Linked DNA regions of Homo sapiens: all the other regions are linked to region 1. The links are contacts of gene promoters, found by promoter capture Hi-C in blood cells and fetal thymus (Javierre and others, 2016). All regions are on one chromosome and are shown on one strand. Each heading gives the region's core, a stretch centred on a gene start or on the middle of the fragment in contact. The rest is flanking DNA. Distances are from core to core; before and after follow the strand shown.

Region 1 (4,504 bases), core at 625-3,124:
TGCACCCACCGACCACGGCACCAGCTCACTCACTGCGCCAGCAGCGGTGCCAGCCCTAGGCGCCAACAGTGCCGGCGCGTTGTCGTTCTCGTCCAGCACGAACACCTGCAGCGTCACGTTGCTGCCCAGAGGCGGCACGCCCGCATCCCGCGCGCTCACCTGGAACTGCAGCAGCTCCACTTCCTCGTGGTCCAGCGGCTGCAGCGCGTACACCTTGCCGCTCTCCGCGTGCACCGAAACGTAGCTCGACAACGCGCGCTCGCCCACCCGCCGCTCCACCAGCGAGTAGGACACCAGCGCGTTCTCCTGCGCGTCCGCATCCCACGCTGACACCGTGAAGATGTGGCAGCCCGGCGGGTTGTTCTCCTTCACGAATACTGTGTACTCAGGCTGTGCGAACGCCGGCGCGTTGTCGTTCACGTCGGCCACCTCGATGGACACGCTGGTGGTGGCCCACAGTGAAGGCGAGCCCCCGTCCCGTGCGGTCACCACCAGCTCATAGGCTGACACGCTCTCGCGGTCCAGGGCGCTGTCCAGCACCAACGAGTAGTAATTCTTGAAGGTGGACACCAGCTTGAAAGGGACGTGGGGCGTCAGGGAGCAGGTGACATGTCCATTCGTACCAGAGTCGCGATCCGACACCGTGATGAGAGCAATGACAGTGCCCAGGGAAGCGTTCTCTGAGATGGGAAGTGAGAGAGACGTTATTGAGACTTCTGGTGTGTTATCATTGATGTCCACAAGTTTTAATGAAATTTTACAATGTCCTGACATTGAAGGGGTTCCTTTGTCAGTTGCAGTGACCTGAATCTCGTAGGACTTTGCTTCTTCATAATCTAATTTTCCCTTAGTTCTGATTTCCCCTGAGATGGGATCTATGGTAAACTTAGTCTGTATAGTGGAGGACACATCACTACCGAGTGAATACACAATCTCGCTGTTCGGTCCTTCATCTGCATCAGAAGCGTTTAACTTAACCACTAAGGTCCCATTTGCCGTATTCTCTAACAATTTTACTTTGTAAACTGATTGGGCAAAAGTTGGTTCATTGTCATTTACATCTAATACCTTAATAAGTATTTGAACGGTGCCCGTGAGCTCAGGTTTGCCCCCATCAGTAGCCACCAGTAACAAATTAACCTCAGCAGTTTCCTCTCTGTCCAGCGATTTCCCCAGCACGAGAGACAAAGATTCGCTTAGTTCATCATTTGCCTGTATATCTAGGAAGAAAAACTCACTGGAGCTGAGCTTGTAGGAGAGAAGAGCATTTACTCCTATATCTGCATCAGATGCTCCCTCTAGAGGAAACCGAGAATCAAGCAGCCTTGATTCGGGAAACCGGATAGTCTTTACTGTCATTGGAAATATTGGCGGGTTGTCGTTAATGTCCTTCACCTCCACTTCCACATGGAAAACCTGCAGCGGCCTGTCCACGATCACCTCCACGTGGATGCTACATTCCGCGCTCCGCCCGCACAGCTCCTCCCGGTCGATCCGAGAATTCACAAACAAAATGCCATTCTGCAGATTTACCTCCAGAAGGTCCCCGTGTCTTTTGGACGCCACCCGGAACAGGCGCGGCACCAGCTCCTCCAGCTCCAGCCCCAGGTCCTGCGCGATGCGGCCCACGAAGGTGCCGTGTTTGGCCTCCTCGGGGACGGAGTAGCGGAGCTGGCCGCTCCCCACCTCCCAGGCTGCGAGGAGCAGAAGCGAGAGCAGCCGTGTCCAGGCCCCTCGGCCCCTTCTGATAGAAGACGCCATTACCAATCCTCAATGTTTTGATCAAATTAGAAGAGCATGTTTTGCAAAAATTTAAATATTCTAGTCTCTGTTAAAGTCCTGCTGCTTCTCTTATTCCTCCGCTTCTCTGAAGTAACAAAGGGGCTCTGGGTATTTTCCTTCCTAGAGAACACTCTATGGTGGACAGCGACATCATGTGGCTAAAAGGAAGGCTCTACTGTTTATTCTGTAGATTTAAAACTAGTCGATTTTCTGGTTTAAGTTTACTCATAGCTTTCATCTTGGAAAAAAATAACTATTTTAAGCCCTAAAATATATTACCTTTTTACCCTTTTTTACTCTGGTTAAAAAACACACAACATAATATTTAAAATTACCATATTAACTATGATTAAATGTACATTTCAGTAATGTTAAGTATATTCACATTGTTACAAATTTTTCATCTTGGAAAACAGAAACTCTATACCCATTAGACAACAACTCCGCTTTTCACCGTCACTCCAGTCTCTGGTAACCACAGTCCTATTTTCTATTTCTATGAATTTCACTACTTTAGATATTTCGTGTAAGTGGACTCGTAAAGTATTTGTCTTTTTGTGACTGGCCTATTTCACTTAGCACAATGTCCTCAAGGTTCATCCATGTTGTAGCATGTGACAAGATTTATTTCCTTTTTAAGGCTGAATACTAGTCCATCGTATGTATACACCACGTTTTGTTTATTCATTCAAGCATCCGTGGATGGTTCCTCAAGGTTCATCCATATTGTAACATGTGACAGGACTTCTTTCCTTTTTAAGGCTGAATAATAGTCCAACATATGTATACACCACGTTTTGTTTATTCATTCAAGTATTCGTGGACATTTGAGTTGCTTCCATTTCTTGACTGTTGTGAACAGTGCTGCCATGAACATGGGTGTGCATATATTTCTTTGAGACCCTGCTTTCAATTCTTTTGGATATATTAGCATTTTTCACTATTTCTTCAAATGAAGAACATAGTAATCAAAGGTATTTTAGTCCATTGAAAATATATGTGTATATATACTGTTGTTTTGTGATTTAATTTTGATTTTTGAATTGTTTGCAAATGTTTTGAAATTAATAATTTATTTGTTTCTCATTTGGATAATGTACTATTACTTTAGAATATTCCTTTTCCATTACATTTAGACTTTTATGCAAGAACAATACAATCGATCTCTTTTTTTGTGTTAATTACTTGAGAATATCTTCTTTTGTTAATTTTTAGCTGATCCCTTCACAGTAAAAAAATGAAAATAGAATAAAGATAAGATGAGGATGAAATAAAATGAATCAAGGAGTGGGATAGCATACAAAATCCATAATAAAGGGTCACCTTCAGTTACTCTAACCATGTCACCAATTTTGTTTTCAGCTTCCTAGAGCAAAGAGAGAAGTAAAATTAATTGCAAAATTTGCAATGTCCGTAAGAGAAAAGCAAAGCTCTTGTTAAGAAAAGCTAGCTTTTTTTCCAATAACAATTTTTTTCCCTCATGTACAGTATCTTAAGATACTCATTTGTACCATCTATGGAAATGTGTATTTATGTTAATCATACTCTAACAGTAAATCCCAAGTTAACCGATTTAAGCAAAAATAAACCAGAGAATCCTGTACTGACTCATACATGGAAATGGGTAATTAATTACTGGTTTCAGACAGAGCTGGGTCTACACCCTTCCATAATTCCATAAGGAAAATAATCTCCACATTTATAATTCCTTTTCCCCTGCTGAACTTCTTCTCAGATAGACTTTTCCCATCTGCTGGCAAAATGGCCAAAGTAGCTTTCTAGACTAAAAATTACCAGTTTGATGACTCTTACCAGAAAGTGCTCTTTTCTAATAGTCCAGCAAAAATCCTGGATATTACTTCCTACAGCCCAGTTTGGATGATGTAAATTTCCTTTAGTCAATAATTGTGATTTTTCTCACATTGGCTAGACATGGGTCCACTTGCTCATTCTTGAAGCCAGGAAATGAAATCAGCTCCACCTAAATTATGTGAACTGAAAAGTGGGAGGTTGGTTTTTATGTGAACTGAAAAGTGGAGGTCATGGCATGTACCCAAATTCTCCTGGAGCTTAAACAGATGGCAGATAGCTTCAGAACTGCTCGTTACAGCATTATGTAGTTGCAAAGCAATTGCATATGTATGATACCCAGTAATTATTATTTAATCTATAGCCAACATTGACCACTGTTGACACATAGAAGGAATTATACCTAGAATCCAGATGCTAGCTTCAGGAAACATGGCTTGCTTGAGACAATTTCTGCAATCATATAAGGTAATTAATTATACCGGATATTCAGAATGACATATGTGGGGGTATAAGAGGCATTTTGTGCTGTTATTTAGGATTTCTGAGAATATGGAATATTTCCCCCTTCCCCCGGAGATAGAATACTATTGCCAGATATGCAAGTACATTTCCCCCACAACGGGGAAAAGAGATTAAGAAGCCATGCTCAGCAAATATCCTTCCTCCCACTGCACTTGATATCTCTTGGTACCTGTTTTGGGTCAAAGATACCCCAAAAGACATCACTTTTCTGAGGTTTAAATAAGTGACCTTATTTGGAATAAAGGTCTTTGCAGATGTAACAAAGATGAGGATCTTGATATGAGATCATCCTAGATTACAGAAGGCCATAAATCCAATGATGGTTGCCCCTTATAAAAGACAGAAAAAGAGAAGGCATATAGTAACACAGGAAAGAAGGAAATGTGAA
Region 2 (4,504 bases), core at 1,066-3,565, 540 kb before region 1:
GCTCCCCTTCGCACGTCCAGGGAGAAGTGGTCATTTGGGTTGAGTGCGTACTTCTGAAGGGCGTTCTCACCTACGTCTGCATCATGCGCATTCTTAAGAGGAATCCGGAATCCTGGCGTAGTGGTTTCACTGATTTTTAGCTCCAGTTCCTCTACTCCAAAGCGAGGGGCATTATCGTTAATATCTGTTATTTCCACCTCTACTGAATAAATAGTCAATTTATCCTCCAGCAGAATGTTAAAATTCAACAGACAGGGTGCGCTCTGAGCGCAGAGCTCCTCCCGGTCTATCCTGTTCGCAGTGACCAAGCTGCCGCTTCGCGGGTTCAGAGCAAAGAGCTGGGACCTACCTCTGGAGACGATGCGGACTCCCTGCTCTGCCAGTGCCAGGGGCTCCAAACCCAAGTCCTTGGCGATGTTGCCTACGAAGGAGCCTCTGTCGATCTCTTCCCGCACAGAATAGCGAATCTGCCCGGCCCTGGCCTCCCACAGGGTCGCCAAAAGGAAGCACAGCAGGACCAGCTTTCTGCAGTGTGGCAACTTTTGCAGAGCCGCCATTTCCCTCCTGTCGCAATTTTCTCCGAGTCAACTTCCAGCATCCAGTGCGGATTCCAATCTTTATTCCTCAGGGTGTGAGATAACCAGCATTCACGGGACCCAGGTCCCTATGGAGAGAACTGGTGGGCTGTTCGACTGAATTTCTTTGGTGTCCTGAAGCTTTAGGGCCAAACCTCCACCCCCTTGTGCTGTGGGAGCCGTATTGCTGGATTGGATGTCTCGCTGCCTTTTACTCCTTAGGTGGTCAACAGCGACGCTCAGAGGCCTAAATAATTTCTGCACCTGCTCAGGAAAACCTAAGTTACTTCTTGTTTGTTTGCCTTTGTTGACTTTCAAGGCGCTTTAAAGAATCTTACAGCTCTAAGATACCCTAGAATTAGATCTTTCAAAACAGGAATCTTTTTATCAGGATTAATAAGAATGGTATAAATGAACATGATCTTGATAATAGTTGCTAGGAAAGTATTATTGACTGCTCAAGGCATTAATCAATGCCACCACTGCCCTTGCTCCAAACATCTTCCATCTCTTATTGTATAATCAGAAGCAGTAAGATCAATTAAGAAACGTTAGCTACGTTTTCTTCTAAGGTTATATATTTTGAACGTTTATGGTTGATGGCTTTGCATTTACCTTCAAAATCTGCCTTTAAATTATTGAATCATCAGACACTTAATTGGGTACATGTGCCTCCCACTTTGCATGATTGCAGCTGGAGCTAGAAATGGTGAACATGATAAACACAGGCCCTGGTCTCAAGCGTGAAGGTTGGAGGAGGACATAAGAAAGTAAAGAGAGTATAATAGAGTATGGTAACTGCTGTGATATGAGGTAGGAAACACTGGGTGATGGAGGAATACCTAGGAGGGGTATCCAGTCTAGATTTGGGGTCAGAAAAGTCTTTTTGAGGGCATGATTGAAGCTGAATCATAAAAAGTAGGATTGAATCAAGAAAAAGGCTGAAGAAGTGTTCTAGAACCTCTGAACAAATGCTTGAAGGTAAGAGACAGCATGGAACATTACAGAAACAGAAAGCAGGTCTATTTGATAAAGCTAGAGCCGGAAGGGGTTTTTCACCACACTAGGAATCAGTCACTCAAAATTGTTTGAGGTTGTCAAGTTCTTTTTCTGATATTCATTTTCCAAGGGTGTAAAATACAATGCAGTGGATGTCTTCTTACTCTTGTTTCATCTTTACCATTTTGACCATAGTCAAGCATACAATTCTGTGACATTAAGTACATTCAAATTACATTCTGGTGTGACCATTACCACCATCCACTTCCAGAACTTTTTCATCCTCCCCAACTGAAACTCTGTACTTATTAAATAGCAACTCCCCATTGCCTTTCACCCAGTCCCTGGCAACTACCATTCTACCTTTTTTCTCTATGAATTTGACTAATCTAGGAACTTCATATATGAGGAATCATACAGTATTTGTCATTTTATAACAGGTTTATTTCACTTGATATCATGTCTTTGAAGTTCGTCCATATTGTAGCATGTAACAGAATTCCCTTCCTTTTTAAGGCTAAATAACAGCCCATTGTATGTGTGAACCACTTTTTATTTACCCATTCATCTGTCAATGGACACTTGGGTTACTTCCACTTTTCAACTATTGTGACTAATGATGCCATAAACATAGGTGTACAAATATCTGTTGAAGTCCCTATTTTCACTTCTTTTGGGTAATAACCAGAGTGGAATTGCTGGATTATATGGTAATTCTATGTTTAAATTTTTGAGGAGTCACCATACCATTTTCCACAGCAGTTGTGTCATTTTATATTCACCAGCAATGCACAAGAATTCCAATTTCTCCATATTCTTGTTAACATTTCTTTTCTTTTCTTTTATGACAGCAATTCTAATGAATGTGGAGTAGTATCTCATTATGGTTTTGATTTGCATTTCCCTAATGACTAGTGATGTTGAACATTGTTTCATATGGTTTTGGCCATTTGTATATCATCTTTGGAGAAATGTCTATTCAAGTCCTTTGCTCATTTTAACATCCAATTGTTTGGGATTCTTTGTTGTTGAGTTCGAGTTCTTTATTCTGGATATCCATTCTCAGATACATGATTTGGAAACATTTTCTCTCTTTCTGTGGGCTGCCTTTTCACTCTATTGATATTGTTCTTTGCTGCATATAGTTTTTAACTGTGATAAAGTCCAGTATACAATTTTTTTCTTTTGTTGCTTGTGCTTTTGGTGTCATATCCAAGAAATCATTGCCAAAAATCAATGTTATGAAGGTTTCCTCCTGTTTTCTTCTAAGAGTTGTATAGTTTTAGTTCTTAAACATAATAACTAAAAGGGTTTTATTGCTTCTGAATATTGCTTCTTTGATCCATTTTGAATTAATTTTTGTATGTGGCATAAGTGGAATTGCCCATTTCTGGTGACACTTTAATCTGTTTGCCTTTTGGCTCCTTCCTTATTGAAATTTTCTCATTTTTACTTTCATCCATTCCTCTTACAAGACTGAAGAAAAATATATTGGAAATAATTGATACCAACTCACCATGTTTTCTTGTAGAGCTACTATGGTATATTTTGCTTTTGTTTTTTATTTTTATTTTTGTGTTTGTGTTTGTGTTTTTTTGTTTTATAGAGATTGGGTCTTGTTATACTGCCCCGGCTGGATTCAAACTCCTGGGCTCAAGCAATCCTACTGCCTCAGCCTACTCAGTACCTGGGATTATAGGTGTGCCATTGTGCCTGGCTCTCTTACATGAGTCCTAACGTTAGACTTGACAGAATTTTCATTTTCTCCCCACTGGTTTTATTACATTTATTGTCTGCTTCCATTATTTCATCCTCAGAACTCTTCCATGGTTGCATTTCAAAAATGTAACTCTTTGTTATTTTTTCCATCATTTTATTTTAGTATATACTCATTGTATGTTTTTTATCTTACTTCTTGAATGGCAAGCTAAATTCATGTATTTTAAATAATTTTGTTTGCTTTTAAAAAAATTATTGCATTTGTCTATAAACTTACTCCTAATTAGTTTTAGTTGCATCTCACAATTTTTAATAAAGAATATTTAAGTCCTTTTTTTCTGAGTAGTTTTCATTGTCATTGTGATTTTTGAAATCCAAGAGTTATTTAAGGGTGTAGATGTAAATATCCAAACTTTTTCCCTTTTCTATTTTTAAATGTTTGCTTTGTGATTAAGTATGTGTTGTAAGGCAAGTATATTATTGGTACTTTGCAATTTGCTGAACCCTTTTTTGTAATGACTAGGTAATAAACTTGTAGATTGTCTGCTTGTTCAAGGATGACTATTCCATATTTGTTGTGTGCAGAACGGATCTATTAGAATCCTAATAGATCAAGCTTCTAAATTATGTTGTTCAAATCTTCTTTATGTTAACTAACTTTCTTCCTGTGGGGTCTATTATTTCTTATGGAATTATGTTTAAATATTCCGGTATTTTCTAAGCTATATTTTTCAGTAATAGAAGCTTATATTTTTATATCCTTTTGATCATCTGCTCTTTTTACAACTATAATCAGTTCATTTTTTAAAATCACAATTTGTGTTTGTTACCTTAAATATGACTTTGTTGTTACATTAACATGACTTTCTTTTTTGTGTGTGTACATATATATTTAGTTTCACTGTTTCAGTGTATTTTTATTTTAAGCACGTGTATTATTAGAATATGGATTTTAAAAATCAACCAGTTTTGTAATATTTGTCCTTTAATAGGTAAATGTAGCTCACTTGTATATACACAGAAAAAAAATTATGATTATAAGAGCTGAGAAAGTCCAGAAGTGAGATAACTTAGTTATCAATTGAGAGTATACTCTTGGTACCAAGCAAAAAATAAAAATAAAAATGCAACAGACACACAGCAAGAATGAGAGAAAGTCTTCAATAGTTACCAGAGAGAAAACAGAGATTACCTTAAAAAATAACAGTGTG
Region 3 (4,504 bases), core at 1,216-3,715, 520 kb before region 1:
GAAACAAAGCAGTGGTTATCAAGTGCAGTCCAATGAACCATTCCATTGGTTTGGATTAATATTTCTAATTTTCTTCAGTTGAGTTCCTATAATTAATATTCTGAGAACTGAGGTCATTTATCAATGTCATTTCATCAAAATTGCTCATAAAGGAAGTTGGTACCAAATTTCTCATGCTCTAAAGATAATCTAATGCCTCACAACATAAGCTATTTTTGAAAAATCAGTTACTGATAAAAGAGGCAGAGTTGTATGCAATTTGTTTGACAGGTTGGTTTATGAGAAGCTTGGGTTTGAAAATATTTAAAGTTTTTTTTTTTGAGACGGAGTCTCGCTGTGTCACCCAGGCTGGAGTGCAGTGGCACCATCTCGGCTCACTGCAAGCCCCGCCTCCTGGGTTCACACCATTCTCCTGCCTCAGCCTCCTGAGTAGCTGGGACTACTCAGGTGCCCGCCACCATGCCCAGCTAATTTTTTTGTGTATTTTTAGTAGAGACGGGGTTTCACTGTGTTAGCCAGGATGATCTTGATCTCCTGACCTCATGATCTGCCCGCCTTGGCCTCCCAGAGTGTTGGGATTACAGGCATGAGCCAGCGCGCCCGGCCTCTTTTTTTTTTTTTTTAAGACAAAGTTTTGCTATTGTTGCCCAGGCTGGAGTGCAGTGGTGTGATCTCGGCTCACTGCAGCCTCTGCCTCCTGGGTTCAAGCGATTTTCCTGCCTCAGCCTCCCGAGTAGCCGGGATTACAGGCATGTGCCACCACACCTGGCTAATTTTGTAGTTTTAGTAGAGACAGGGTTTCACCATGTTGGTCAGGCTGGTCTTGAACTCATGACCTCAGGTGATCTGCCCACCCTGGACTCCCAAAGTGGTGGGATTACAGGCCTGAGCTACCACACCCGGCCTAAAGTCCATTTTACTTCTATCTGACAAGAAACAGTATTGAAATGTTAAAAAAAAAAAAAAAGTTACCTAGTCCTCAGGTCTATAATTAAATATGCTGACATTTGCAGACTTCAGAAGGCTAATTTATCTTTTTAAGTGAAACGTTTTTATGAGTAAGTTTTTTTTTTTTTTTTAGATGGAGTCTTGCTGTGTTGCCAGGCTGGAGTGCAGTGGCGTTATCTTGGCTCATTGCAACCTCTGCCTCCTGGGTTCAAGCGATTCTCCTGCCTCAGCCTCTGGAGTAGCTGGGACTACAGGCATGTGCCACCAAGCCCAGCTAATTTTTGTAATTTTAGTAGAGACGGGGTTTCACCATGTTGGCCAGGATGGTCTTGATCTCTTGACCTTGTGATCCACCCGCCTCGGCCTCCCAAAGTGCTGGGATTACAGGCGTGGGCCACCGTGCCTGGCCGTGACTAGGATTTTAGCACAGAATATGTAAGCTTAAGCAAGGTTTCCCTCAATATCTAGGTTTTATATTATTTCTTGAGGTTTCCAAATAATATATATTAAACAACAACAAAAAAACAGTTTAGGATGCTAGGTGACAAAATTTACTGTTTTTGTAATCTAGGTATTTTGCTACACTTAGAAGATTGACACCTGAAAAGCTCCCACCATATCTGGCTTTACAGTGGATCATTTATCAAGTAGTTTATTCTTACCAAGGTCTCAACACCAATGGTGGCAGTTCCATCAATAACAGAAAGGAAAGATTCTGGATACAATAACAAAATAGTATATTGATCTCACTATTCCTGTTTCAGTTATGAGTTCTAAGTGGATTCTAAAATCCACGTTTCCAACCTTGATTCTTCTGTGCTTCAGGTTTAGTTTAGCCAGATGTGTACTAGAAACATACTTGAAAGTATCTCTCAGGCAACTCAAGTGTAAATGTTCAAAATGGCCGGGTGCAGTGGCTCATGCCTATATCTCAACACCTTGGGAGGCTGAGGCAGGTGGATCACCTGAGGTCAGGAGTTCAAGACCAGCCTGGCCAACATGGCAAAACCCATCTCTATTAAAAATACAAAACAAATTAGCTGGGCATGGTGGTGGGCACCTGTAATCCCAGCTACTTGGGAGGGTGAGGTGGGAGAATAGCTTGAACCTGGGAGGTGGATGTTGCAGTGAGCCGAGATCATGCTACTGTGCTCCAGCCTGGGCAACAGAACAAAACTCCATCTCAAAAAAAAAAATACAGGTTCAAAATGGAACTTTTCCTCTTCCTTGAAAATTTGCTTTTCCTTCTGGGTTCCAGTAAAAATAAATGGCACCACCACACATCCCAACTGTGGAAGCTGGACACTAGAGCCATAACTTTACATTTCTCCCTTTCCCTTGCTACTTTTGATTTTACTTAAGAAGTTCTTCACTCACTCTACTTCATCCTTACAGCCACTGTCCTATTTCAAGCCATTATTATTATCTATCAAATGGCAATAGCTTCTTTACCATCCAATTTAGTTTTCACTGCCACCAAACTCATTTTTCTGAGACATATTTGATTGTGTTACTACCATGCTGAAAACCCTTCAGTGACATCTCATTGCTCTCAGGGCTAGGTTTGTATTTCTCAAAAAGATGCACAAGATTATGAGTTCTCCATTTACCTTTTCAGCCTCAGCTCCGCATTCAGTATATGGTCAGTCCACTCTGAACTTACATTTTTTTCAAGGAGCTTACTCATTCTCCCACTCCTGGGCCATAGATCCTTTTAACAAGCAGTTCACTCCACCTAGATGACTTTACCCTTTGTCTGAGTCCTACTTAACCCTCAGGTCTCAACCTAAGTGACTTCAGCAAGGCTTTTCTGACCCTTTTCTCCCTCTAGGTTAAGCAACCCTATTACGGCTTTGCACTTTGTTCTTCCCTCTCTCATTTATTTGACAAACATTTTGTGTGTGTGTGTGCCAAACTACAAGGGGTGTGTGTGTGTGTGTGTGTGTGTGTGCGCGCGCACCAAACTACAAGCTACTGGATATGCAGTGATGAACAAAGCATTTAGTGTCTATAAACTCATGCACTGCACGGTCTACTGGGATGAGTATCTGTTATAACTAAAGTGTAAATTACCTTTGTTCGTATCTCCTGCTTGGCTTTAAATTTACTGAGATATTTTGCTACATTAGTGACTGTAAACTTACTGAAGAATAGTAGAAAGATCAAAATCTTAACATCAAGACATGTCATGCATGGTTCGTATCCTAGCTCAGTTACCTATTAGTTGTGTGACCTTGCACAGGTAGCAATCTGTTTACCTCAATTTTCTCATCTCCAAAGTGGAGGCAATAATACTACCTACCTCATAGGGTTATTGGGCTGTTGGCTGCTGGCTGCTGAATCATATAAATGACTTATTTAGAACAATGCCTGGAACATAGTAAGTAAACAACAGAAGTAAATTTACCACTATTACAACCCATTAAGGTATGGACCATAACAGATACTAAATAATTAAAGAGTGACTGAAATGTTAGAAAAAGTGTTTATAGGGAAACAACTATTCTAAATGTAATTGTTTTCAAATTTAAGAAATTTTAGAGATCAGTTTCAACCAAATTCAGATGGGAAAAAAAATTCTAAATGAAAGCTTATAAATTAGGTTACAGCAGAAACGGTTTGCTTCAAATTTATCTGCAGCATAAACAAATTTACTCAGCTCTTTCCTCCTACAGTTTAGCACTTACAGTTCTCTTTTCTTGGAATAGTCACCAGATATTCTCATGGATAGCTTTTTGTCACTGAAGGCCCAACTCAACCCTTATTTTCTCTGGTAACCCTATCTGGCCATTCAATCTAATTCTTAAGAAGCATGTGATTTAGATGTTTCATCATGTCAGGTGCTATGTCAAGTGCAGTGGTCTTCATTAAAAAGTTGGAAGGTTCTTTGCTACTATTTTCTAATATATGTGTTCTGGAGGATATGTGCTTAAAAACAGAAGCAGCATCATTCTGGTTAGTTGGAATCAGGGAAATGGTTTTAATTGCTTAAGATTGCCTATTATCTTGGGCAATGTTACTGTATATGCTTGGCTCTGTTTTCTCCAAGTCCAACTGTATGGTCAAATGTATTTCATAGAATTTGACCTCAGGGAATCTGCCTCTGTTACTTGTGTTATTATGCCTGACAATTCATTGAAGGTATTAATGTTCTTGTACTGATCCCTGGCCTTGGTGTTATGGAGTATGGTTTCCAATGTGATATTTTCCTCCAAATAACTTTGTTTAATGGAACTGGGGCATACTGGGACACTGTCATTTACATTTATCTTTAGTTATGGGTATGTGAGTTCCTCTCACTGTTTCACCTCTGGTGGTCATAATGAGATGATGAAAGACTTCCTCTTTCTTTTCTAAATCATTCTGTAAGATCAGCTACATGGTGGTGTCTTTTTTTGTTCTAATTTTAATATCTAGGGAAAAATAAGCATTGCTTTTCAAATTCTAGTTTGCAGACAACATATTCTCATGTTGAAGTTTCAGGTACCCCTTAACTGGAAACTCATGTCAGGCAATAGTCTTACACTAATTTTAATAGATGTCTTTCTACTTGTAA

Evidence for each region. The method cuts DNA at HindIII sites, captures the fragments that hold promoters and counts their contacts. A CHiCAGO score of 5 or more calls a contact.
Region 2: a fragment that was not itself captured here is called in contact with the fragment with the promoter of PCDHA2 in region 1 in 6 of 17 cell types (M1 macrophages, erythroblasts, M2 macrophages and 3 more); the score reaches 13.8 in M1 macrophages.
Region 3: a contact is called between a fragment that was not itself captured here and the fragment with the promoter of PCDHA2 in region 1, in 6 of 17 cell types (M2 macrophages, M0 macrophages, M1 macrophages and 3 more). The highest score is 18.7, in M2 macrophages.

Annotation. Positions count from the first base shown.
Region 1 is chr5:140,792,222-140,796,725 of GRCh38, reverse strand. PCDHA2 (protocadherin alpha 2) reads right to left here and starts at 1,874. Exons shown (of 4, transcript NM_018905.3): 1 at 1-1,874. The coding sequence starts at 1,761. All of the region lies in intron 1 of PCDHA1 (protocadherin alpha 1), which reads right to left. It also overlaps PCDHA@. The HindIII fragment of the contact is 8,329 bases long and covers 1-4,504 here.
Region 2 is chr5:141,335,025-141,339,528 of GRCh38, reverse strand. All of the region lies in intron 1 of PCDHGA1 (protocadherin gamma subfamily A, 1), which reads right to left. It overlaps PCDHGA2 (protocadherin gamma subfamily A, 2), which reads right to left and starts at 769. Exons shown (of 4, transcript NM_018915.4): 1 at 1-769. The coding sequence starts at 557. It also overlaps PCDHG@. The HindIII fragment of the contact is 3,193 bases long and covers 719-3,911 here.
Region 3 is chr5:141,313,668-141,318,171 of GRCh38, reverse strand. No RefSeq gene overlaps it. Among named protein-coding and RNA genes, the nearest start is that of TAF7, 4.9 kb to the left of the region's middle. The HindIII fragment of the contact is 2,150 bases long and covers 1,391-3,540 here.